2 separate regions of the Homo sapiens genome follow, and region 1 is linked to region 2. The links are contacts of gene promoters, found by promoter capture Hi-C in blood cells and fetal thymus (Javierre and others, 2016). All regions are on one chromosome and are shown on one strand. Each heading gives the region's core, a stretch centred on a gene start or on the middle of the fragment in contact. The rest is flanking DNA. Distances are from core to core; before and after follow the strand shown.

What was found. The method cuts DNA at HindIII sites, captures the fragments that hold promoters and counts their contacts. A CHiCAGO score of 5 or more calls a contact.
Region 1: a fragment that was not itself captured here is called in contact with the fragment with the promoter of EIF2D in region 2 in 3 of 17 cell types (fetal thymus, endothelial precursors and total B cells); the score reaches 7.2 in fetal thymus.

What each region holds. Positions count from the first base shown.
Region 1 is chr1:207,496,657-207,501,561 of GRCh38, forward strand. All of the region lies in intron 1 of CR1 (complement C3b/C4b receptor 1 (Knops blood group)), which reads left to right. Among named protein-coding and RNA genes, the nearest start is that of CR1, 3.0 kb to the left of the region's middle. RefSeq lists an enhancer at 2,904-2,963. The HindIII fragment of the contact is 209 bases long and covers 2,993-3,201 here.
Region 2 is chr1:206,608,691-206,613,918 of GRCh38, forward strand. EIF2D (eukaryotic translation initiation factor 2D) reads right to left here and starts at 3,775. Exons shown (of 15, transcript NM_006893.3): 1 at 3,597-3,775; 2 at 2,494-2,684; 3 at 686-769. The coding sequence starts at 3,652. RefSeq lists enhancers at 858-957, 998-1,057, 3,468-3,537 and a silencer at 3,828-4,037. The HindIII fragment of the contact is 3,738 bases long and covers 2,676-5,228 here.

The DNA.
Region 1 (4,905 bases), core at 1,847-4,346, 890 kb after region 2:
GCGGGTGCCGCACGAAATTCCTTGCCTTTGTGTATTCACAGCCTCGGCTGGCTATAGCCAAGACGTGGCGTTGATCCTAGTGAAAGGGAACTTGGGGATCCGACAAACCTGAGTTCTGGTCCTAGAAACTTAACTGTGAGGCAACTTAGCACACCTGAGTCTGTTTGCTCTTCTGTAAAATGGGGACACTGGTATCTCTGCATCGTGGAGTTGCTGCCTCAGTGGCATTAAGCCTGTCGAGTATCTAACACAGGGCTATGTGTCCCCGAGTCCATTTCTATCCCCCAACCGTTACCTCTGTACTTTGCTCCCAATGGTGTTTAGACAAGCAGTCCTAGGGATGCAGGTGTTACCTGACAACTGCCCCGCATGGAACTGTCCTCGCCCCCCACACCAAGCCACCACGGCCATCATCACCATGCACTTAATTGACAGCATACTTTAAGACAGATGCATGCCAGGCACTTGCGGATTAGAAGAGCAAGGGAAGCCCCAGAACATGCAATGTAACCGTTGCAGGTAGAAGGGACAGTAGATATGTTTACAGTTCGCATTTTAGTGATGTGTTTAGTACAAAATAACGCCTATTATAATTATTATGGAAATTTTGAGGCCACATCTCTTCCTTTTTCTTAACTTCAAATAGGTAAACATCTTCAGTTAGAACCCTTCTATTATTATTTTTCGGCTCCCCAGAAGTCTTCTTGGTTGCCTAGACTCACTGGCAACATCTCATTTGAAGTGACAGTCTTGGTTGTTTTTGTCCAGCCTATTCCTGACAACTCCGGGTTCGCCCTTCTCTGCCACTAGACATTTTACATTCATTATTTGAGTGTTCCTTCTTCTCTAAAAGAGTAAATAAAATAAAATAAAGTAGAACCAAGTCCCGCAAGAGTTGTTATTAATATTTGATCTCCTTAGGCACCAGAAAGTAACCTGTCAGGTGCAGAGATGTGATAAAACGTACAATCTTATTTTTAGGAGAGAAGCATGCCCAGTAAGTTAAGCAATCTGTTGTCAACGCTTAGGAATTTGTGTCATCTTTGGGAGTACTGGCCCTCTTCTTACTAGAATGTTGTTTTACTTAGCCTATGTTGATTAAGTTACTGTTATAAACAATCCCAGACACTATTAATTGCAAAAAAAAAATTTACTGAGGTTATCACAATAACTTCCAAATGTGAAACAGCCTAAACTAAACTACCTAGAAATTTTGTTGCTGACATAATTTAAATTTTAAAATGCTGATGGATGCTTCCAGTGTGCACGGTCCTTTGGAATTTTAAAGAAGTATAAGAGCTCTGCACCCAAAGTGTATGCATATAGAAGTAGGTGGTGGAGTTTTATGAAATCTACTTATTAGGAAGCCAGCGTTCTGCTTTTTCCAGCCTCTGCTACTTACCAGCTGGTGTCTTGGACCCAGTAAGTTAAGTCACATCACTGACCTTCAGTGTCCACATGTATAAAATGAGCACAACTGACATCCTGATCTCTGAGAGAGACGTTTTGAAAATCAGATGGTGTAATGCATGTGACAGTGTTTTGTAATCTGAAAACCCCCATGCATGTCTGAAAAACCATGACTAAGAAGTCGTGCAAGACTGCAGGATCACCGAAAAGCGAGAAATCTCAACTCCTATGATCAGGAAAGGATGAGTGAAAGGTATATGGCTTTACTAGCACTTAAAGAGTGAATCTAGAAACAGATTGCATACGACAAAAAATAGCAGAGGAGCTAGGATTGTTTTGTTATTATGAGTTACTCACAGTACCCGTAAAGTGGTATAGTGCTATTTGAAAGAGGACTTAGATTAGCTGCAAATAGATATTGCAAATGTAGGACAACCCCTGAAAAATGTGAAAAAAAGAACTATAATTTATATGTTAATAAGTAAGAGAGAATTGCATCATATAAAATGCTCAGTTAAAACAATAAAGATGGCTGGGGACAGTGGCTCATGCCCATAATCCCAGCACTTTGGGAGGCTGAGGTGGGTGGATCACCTCAAGTCAGGAGTTCAAGACCAGCCTGGCCAACATAGTGAAACCCTGTCTCTACAAAAACACAAAAATTACCAGGGCATGATGGTGGGTGCCTGTAGTCCCAGCTACTCGGGAGGCTGAGGCATGAGAATCGCTTGAACCTGGGAGGCGGAGGTTGCAGTGAGTCGAGATCGTGCCATTGCACTCCAGCCTGGGTGACAGAGCGCAACTCCAAATCAAAAAAAAAAAAAAAAGAAACAAACAAACAAAACAAAAAACAATAAAGGGCAGGAAAAGAATGGAAGACAAAAAATAGAAACAGAGAACAAGAGAAAAAAAGCAACAAATAAAAACCAGTAACAAAACTAAAGCAACTATATCAACAATCATTTTGAGTGTCAATGATCGAAATGCACCATTTGAAACAGATCATCAGAGTGGATCAAGAAACAAGACCCAACTATATACTGTGTACAACAAGACCGTTTTAAATATAGACAATATATATGAAAAGTAAATGGATAAAGATATACCATGCTAATGCTAGTCACAGAAAGCAGGAATAGCTGTGTTAATTTCAAACACAGCAGACTTCAGACCAAGAAAAATTATTAGGGATAAAGAGGGGCATCATATAATGATAAAGGGGCCAATTATCCAAGAAGACGTAACAATATCCCATATGTATGCACCTGATGGAGAGACAAAATACGTGAGGCAAAACCCATAGAACTGCAAGGAGAAATAGATGGATTTACTATCATAGTTGGAGACTTCTATGATATCTTTCTGATATCAGAAAAGGTGCTGAAGTCTCCTTATCAGAAATGGGCAGATTCAGCAGGCAGAAAATCCGTAAGGACATACTTGAATTCAACAGCACCATCAATCCACTTGGGTATAATTGACATATATAGATGACTTCATCCACAACAGCAGAGCACATATTCTCCCGCTTACATTCATGGGGATAGACCACATTCTGAGCCATAAAATAGTACACGAATTAAGCTTTACCAGGCAGTGTTTAATATAGGGTGGACTCTGGCGCCCTCACGTGGTCCTCATATAGGATCTGGTTTGGTTATCCCTGCTAGGTAAAGGTGCAAGATAGAAGGGAAGTTCCAATTTGCTTTCTGTGCTTTGTGGTGTATTTTGGTTTACATATGCTCAGATGAGTGGATGTGTGATTTATATTATCTATTTTAATCTAAAATAAGCTTCACATTTGGACAGGTAACATCAAAAGTGTCCTACACAGAAATGCTGGGTGAAGATCCCAGTAATAAAACCAACTCCAGAAAACAAGAAAATGGTAGAGTTGACAATCCCTCTCACCCTCTCCGCAAAGACACATGTATACACATTTTTTGTCAGAGGCATTAAGTAGAAGAAATGCTGTCAGTCTAATCACAACTGATCACAACTCGATGAAACCAAAAAACCTAGAAAGTATCATGAAGACTGTCGAAATAAGCTTTACATTCACTATTGTGAACAGAGAGACTCAATGTGACTGTTTTTTGTCCCGTTAGATGTTAGCTAATGATTGTGCTAAGTCATGATGATTAACAAAGCATTTAAAATATTTATTTTATCTGTGTTACATTTCAAAAATTTATATTGAGGCATATAATTTATGTTCGTGTACATATATAATTTATAAATTTATATATTTGAAAGGGCATGCTCTTTTTTTAAACTGATAGAGGTGCCTAAGCAAAGCAAGTGCAAATCTATTCCTTAAAGGGTAAGTATGCAGAATGGAAAGCAGAGTGTTCTTTGGGTTGACAGCTCATATTGCAACAGACATGAAAGTGATGATGTGTTAATTGTGCATATAGCACAGAATACATCAACTTGCTTTGAATGGAATATCTGAACCAGGAGAATGTGAAAGTGGGCTGAGTCATACAAGACAAAACCCGAAATGAGATAACAATACATACCCACTAGAATGACTAAAATGAAAAAGATTGACCGAGCCAAGTGTTGGCGATAAGGTGGAGTAACTGGAATTATAATATACTGCTATTTGGCAGGTAAAATTATAACATTAACTTTAGAAAATAGTTCAACAGATTCTTAAAACCTTAGACACACACTCAACATTTTACTCTTAGGTTTTTACCCAAGAGAAATGAAATCATATGTCCACACAAAGACTTGTACATGAATTTTCATAGCAGTTTTGTTTGTAATAGCCAACACGTGGAAACAATCCAAATGTCCCTCAACAAGTAAATGGATAAACTAAATTAAGATATATTTATGCAATTGAATATTACCCAGCAACTAAAGGAAACAATTTGTATACATGCAGCAACCTAGATGGATCTCTAATTATGCTGTGTGAAGGCTAAACCATAAAAAAAAACCTGAGTGATTTCCTTTATACAATAGGATATAAATGAAGTGATTTAGGTTATATGAAATTTTAGAAAGTCAAATCAATCTGTAGTAAGAGAAAACCACCTGAGTTATTTCCTTTATATGATAGGATATAAACGAAGTGATTCGGGTTATATGAAATTTTAGAAAGTCAGATCAATCTGTAGTAAGAGAAAACACATTGAAGGTTGCCTAGAGAAGGAAGTGGATGTTTGGATGGATTACAGAAGGGCATGAGGGAACTCTGTGTGGGTGGGATGTATGATGGAAACGTTTATTGTCTTCATTTTGGTGATGGTTTCACAACGCATACATATGTTATAAGTAATCGAATTGTACACTTCAAATACTCATCAATCATTGTATGTAATATATCTTGATAAAGCTATAAAAACTTTTAAAATTATGGTAGGTCTTCAGTTTGTGGATTTTATATTAATATATTTGTCATAGGAACTAGTCACAATTGAGGGATTGGTAATAAAGGAGAGAAAGGAAACTACATCAAGCTTTCTTTGTTGAAGGCTCATA
Region 2 (5,228 bases), core at 2,525-5,024:
TCTAAGCCAGAAGTGGGAACCTTGACTTCCACTCCAGACTCAGCTCCTAACATTCTTCTGGCATAAAAGAGCTACTCTTAGCCAGGTGCGGTGGCTCACGCCTGTAATCCCAGCACTCTGGGAGGCCAAGGCGGGCAGTTGACTTGAGGTCAGAAGTTCGAGACCAGCCTGGCCAACATGATGAAACCCTGTCTCTACTAAAAATACAAAAATTAGCCAGGCGTGGTGATGCACACCTGTAATCCCAGTTACTCGGGAGGCTGAGGCAGGAGAATCACTTGAACCTGGGAGGCAGAGGTTGTAGTGAGCCGAGATCATGCCACTGCACTCCAGCCTGAGCAACAGAGTGAGACTCCATCTCAAAAAAAAAAAAATAAAAAAAGTTTGAGTAGCCTATAACATGATCTGTCTTGTCCTAGTTTCCTAAATTCAGCTTATTGATTTACAGTATAGCACATGGTGGTTCATAAAATACTTTCACAACACTTATTTAAGCCTTACAACAGGGCCAGAGGGGCCCAGAGATCTTGTGTGGAACCAGCCAAGTGAGAAACATAAAACACATAGGGGAAAAAATTCCATTTTTCAACCACAAAAACACAGGAAATGGGTAAGTTTATTACATCAGTTGGCTTTTGCTAAGTAGGTTTCAGCCAATAGCCAGAATATAGGAGAATCCTCTTACCTGCTCCCCCTACCAGTTTCTCGAGCACCAGAGGCCATGTTGTAAAGGTTGGCAGAAGATCAGGATAGGACCACAGCGTGTACACTGTACAAAAAGAGATCCAGAAAACACTACTACCAAAAAGCCAATCTTCTAGAGAAATGGAAAAACCTAACACTATGGTCACTTTAATTAGAATACAGGAAAGAAACTCAACTCAAAGCTAAAGAGAAGGTTGTAAGGGGATGCCCAGAGAGGTTTCATTTTTGAGGAAGGAAAAAACCTAAGAAACTGAGTGTCACTTGAGATTTGGAGGCATCCGGATTGCAGCAGCAGAAAATGGTCACAGTGGACAAAAAAGTGAGGGCAGAGAACCAATGAAGCTTTTATTTACGGCTTCAGAAGCAAGTAGCCTAAGAACAGGAAGCCAGCTGTATAAAATTTGGAAACTTTCCCATGTTTATCATTTTTATCCCCTCTGTTTCCATAGTGATTAGCAGCAAAAACCCCTAGGTCAAAAAGCATTGTGGTTGTCTTCAGGTACAGCAAGGAAGTGAGATCAGGGGCAGGAGTGGCCTAAGGATATTGCATTGCACTATTGCAGACAACCCTGGAGGATGAAAAGCCCCAAGTTACAAAGTAGGTGTCAGCAGCTATGGAAAAGAGAAAAGGAGACTGAGTCCCTGAGATTTGTGACAGAGAAGGCAAAGAATCCTAGAGAGCCACTCATAGCCTAAAAAATCCCTGTGAGACCTATGGTTAAAGTACACCATGAAAACAGCTGGATATGTAGCTTATCAATCCAGCTTTATTCCTATCACAGTATATCTTTTCAGTATTTTAGGAAAATCCTGCTACAGATAGTTTTAAGAAACATTTTTTAGGCTGGGCACCCTGCTCATGCCTGTAATCCCAACACTTCGGGAGACTGAGGCAGGAAAATCACTTGAGCTCAAGAGTTCAAGACCAGCCCGAGCAACATAGTGAGACCTTGTCTCTACCAAAAATTTTAAACGTAGCCAGACATGGTGGCATATGCCTGTAGTCCCAGCTACACAGGAGGCTGAGGTGGGAGGATCCCTTAAGCACAGGAGGTTGAGGTTACAGTTAGCTACGATCACACCACTGCACTTCAGCCTGGGTGACAGAGTAAGACCTTGTCTCTAAAAAATATATATATTTTTGGCCAGGCGCGGTGGCTCACGTCTGTAATTCCAGCACTTTGGGAGGCCGAGGCGGGCGGATCATGAGGTCAGGAGATCAAGATCATCCTGGCTAACATGGTGAAATCCCGTCTCTACTAAAAAATGCAAAAAATTAGCAAGGTGTGGTGGCGGGTGCCTGTAGTTCCTGCTACTCGGGAGGCTGAGGCAAGAGAATGGTGTGAACCCAGGAGGCGGAGCTTGCAGTGAGCTGAGATTGCGCCACTGCACTCCAGCCTGGGCAACAGAGCAAGACTCTGTCTCATGAAGACATGCCCTGAAATTCCATCCTTTTCAAGACCTCTGCTCTATTCCTAGTCAACCCACTGTAAACTTCTCAGCCACTGTTCCTTCATCTCAGAACTTCCCTTTGCAACCACCCTTACTTACTATGTCAGCCCTTTTTTTAATCCCTCCTATAGTGGTTTTGCATAAGAGAAAACCTTTTGCATCCTAGAATTGAAAGACCCAATTCTAGGAACACCAGGTCCATAAAGATCCTTGGGGATGGTATTGGGAGATTTCGTGCTTGCTTATTTTATGGGAGACAATGGAAGAAACAGAGAGAAGCAGATGTTAGGCAAGAACTACCTAATGGTAATGGCCATCTTCGTCCTGTTGTCATACCTGTTGGATACAGATTTTTCTCCAGTTCAAAGAGGATGGGGTTACCACCACTCACGTACACAGTCACTGCATCCCCTTTGTGAGCATACAACTTCACAATGTTGAGCTCCTCCTTTCCAGGTACTAACTCAGAGACTTGATCAGTTCCAAGGGTGGGGAAAGCAGTTGTCACATCAGCTCGAAGCTTTCTCCTGTGGAAAGCACACCAGCACTGTGAATGCTGCCTGGACAGACTTTTAATAAATATCAAGAACGAACTCAAAAGTGCTCACTATAAAATCACAAGGGCCAAAGAAAGATTGCCTGGTTTATGATGTCCTAGTCTCACACACACTCTTCTGAAACATCCTAAACTCTTTTTCATCCATTGTCATCTATTTTCACTCATTCCTGGGGTATGCCTTCCCATTTTATGGGTGGGAAAACAGGCCCAGTGAACAATCCAAGTTAGCCTGACACAGGAAACAGCCCTGCCTTCCTGACTTCATGCCTAGCCCTTGGGCCCACTCCTTTCTCATACATGCTTCGCAAATATGCCAGTTTATGATTAAATAACTATGCCATGAGACCTATAGACAACTATAAAGCACTGGTTACAAAATTCCAAACACAATCTCCATTTGTGACCCTGTCTGAACAGATACAGTTCTTCTTACCACATGTGCCTTATTCCCTCCCACCTCAGTTTCCAGCTGTCTCTCCTGCCAGAATTAATCACTAGTCATTTTTTTCTCTTATACTTTTAATTCTTGGTATCCCATCCGATCTCTCCCAAGGGGCATTAAGCTCTTTGGAGGGCAAGAATTCTGTATTCCTTCACTTCTGCATTCTCCACAACACCTTAAATAGTCTGCAGTCAGTAAACTCTGACTTAACTACGTTTTCTTTTAAACTCACTAGACTATCCAAAAGAGAGCCAGGTCCCCCTCCATCCTCACCTCAAAATGTGTCTAACCCACCCTTGCCTCCTGGGGTCCCTTCCCTGGCATACCCCTCGGCCTCCACCCGAGGATGTCGGCCAAGAATAGCGAGGGCTATGGGCCAGCGGGGCCCAAGAGGTGTCTGGTTGTTCCGTGGCAGAGCAGGCCCCTTTCCTCCCTCACCTGTCCGACCCCTTGATGGCCGTGTTGGACTTGACCCGAAAGGCCTTGGCAAACATGTCTGCTGGGGTGGCCTGGGGAAGAGAGCACAGAAGCCAGGGAATGTCAAGAAAGCGAGGGCGCAGCAGCTGCCAGGCCCTCAGCCGTGGGGGCAGCCATGCTGGGGCCCGGCCGCGAAAAGGGCCCGGCTGGAAACCAGGGCCGCGCAGCTTCGTGGCCGTTGCCGCTGGGGAGGCCGCGGCCGCCCCCAGTGGCGGTACCTGGAACTAAAGCAGGGCAGGGAGGGGCAGGGCCCAGGGAACGCCCCTCCCCCCCACCTTCCCATCCCCTCGCGGGCCTGGCTCTGCGCCTGCGCGAGCGGCTCGGGTTCCCCGTCCGTAGCGACTCGGCCACGCCAATAGCTGTTCTGTTTATTTCCTTCCACCCCATCAACCTTAGGAACTGCTTTGAGTAGAAGCTCTCTGCAAGCTCCCATTCCATTCGGTTCGGTTCAATTCCGCAAAAATAATTGAACTGATAAACAGTTCAGGCTTCGGCCGGGCGCGGTGGCCCAAGCCTGTTATCCCAGACTTTGGGAGGCCGAGGCGGGCGGACCGCTTAAGCCCAGAAGTTCGAGACCAGCCTGGGCAACATGGCGAAACCCCATCTCCATAAAAAATACAAAATAAAAAAAAAAAAAAAAAAAAAAAAAAAGAAAGAAAGAAAGAAAGAAAAAGAATTGGGAGGCCGAGGTGGGCGGATCACCTGAGGTCGGGAGTTCGAGACCAGCCTGATCAACATGGAGAAACCCTGTCTGTACTAAAAATACAAAATTAGCCGGGCATGGTGGAGCATGCCTGTAATCCCAGCTACTCGGGAGGCTGAGGCAGGAGAATTGCTTGAACCCGGGAGGCAGAGGTTGTGGTGAGCCGAGATTGCACAATTGCACTCCAGCCTGGGCAACAAGAGTGAAAGTCCGTCTCAAAAAAAAAAAAAAAAGAAAAGAAAAAAGAAAAATTCAGCCGGGTGTGGTGGCGCATGCCTGGGGAGGCTAAGGCGGTAGGATCGCTTGAGCCCAGGAGGCAGAGGTTGCCGTGAGCCGAGATTGTGCCACTGCACCCCACCTTGGACAACAGAGTAAGACTCCGTATCAAAAAAATCAAACAAACAAACAAAAAAACCTCGAGGGCTTTTTGAATATTTTTCTTTATTTTATTTTATTTTGTTTACTTGGAGACAGGGTCTCGCTGTGTCACCCAGGCTGGAGTGCAGTGGCGCAATCTCAGCTCAATGCAGCCTCCACCTCCCGGGCTCAAGCGATCCATCCGCTTCAGCCTCCCGAGTAGCTGGGACTACAGGCGGGCACCACCACACCAGGCTAATTTTTGTATTTTTTGTAGAGACAGGATCTCACCTTGTTGCCCAGGCTGGTCTCAAACTCCTGAGGTCAAGAGATCTGTCCGCCTCGGCCTCCCAAAGTGGTGGGATTACAGGACAGGTGTGAACCACCAAGTCGGGCCTAAATGTTTTTCTTAAAGGCATTCTATGATTAAGGTCTATTCATTGTACTATAAGCTAGAAGCCTCAGCTAGAATTTTCTGTAAGATTTTTCTCATCCCGGATTTTTAGTTTACTTGGGTGGTAATAACAGTAATA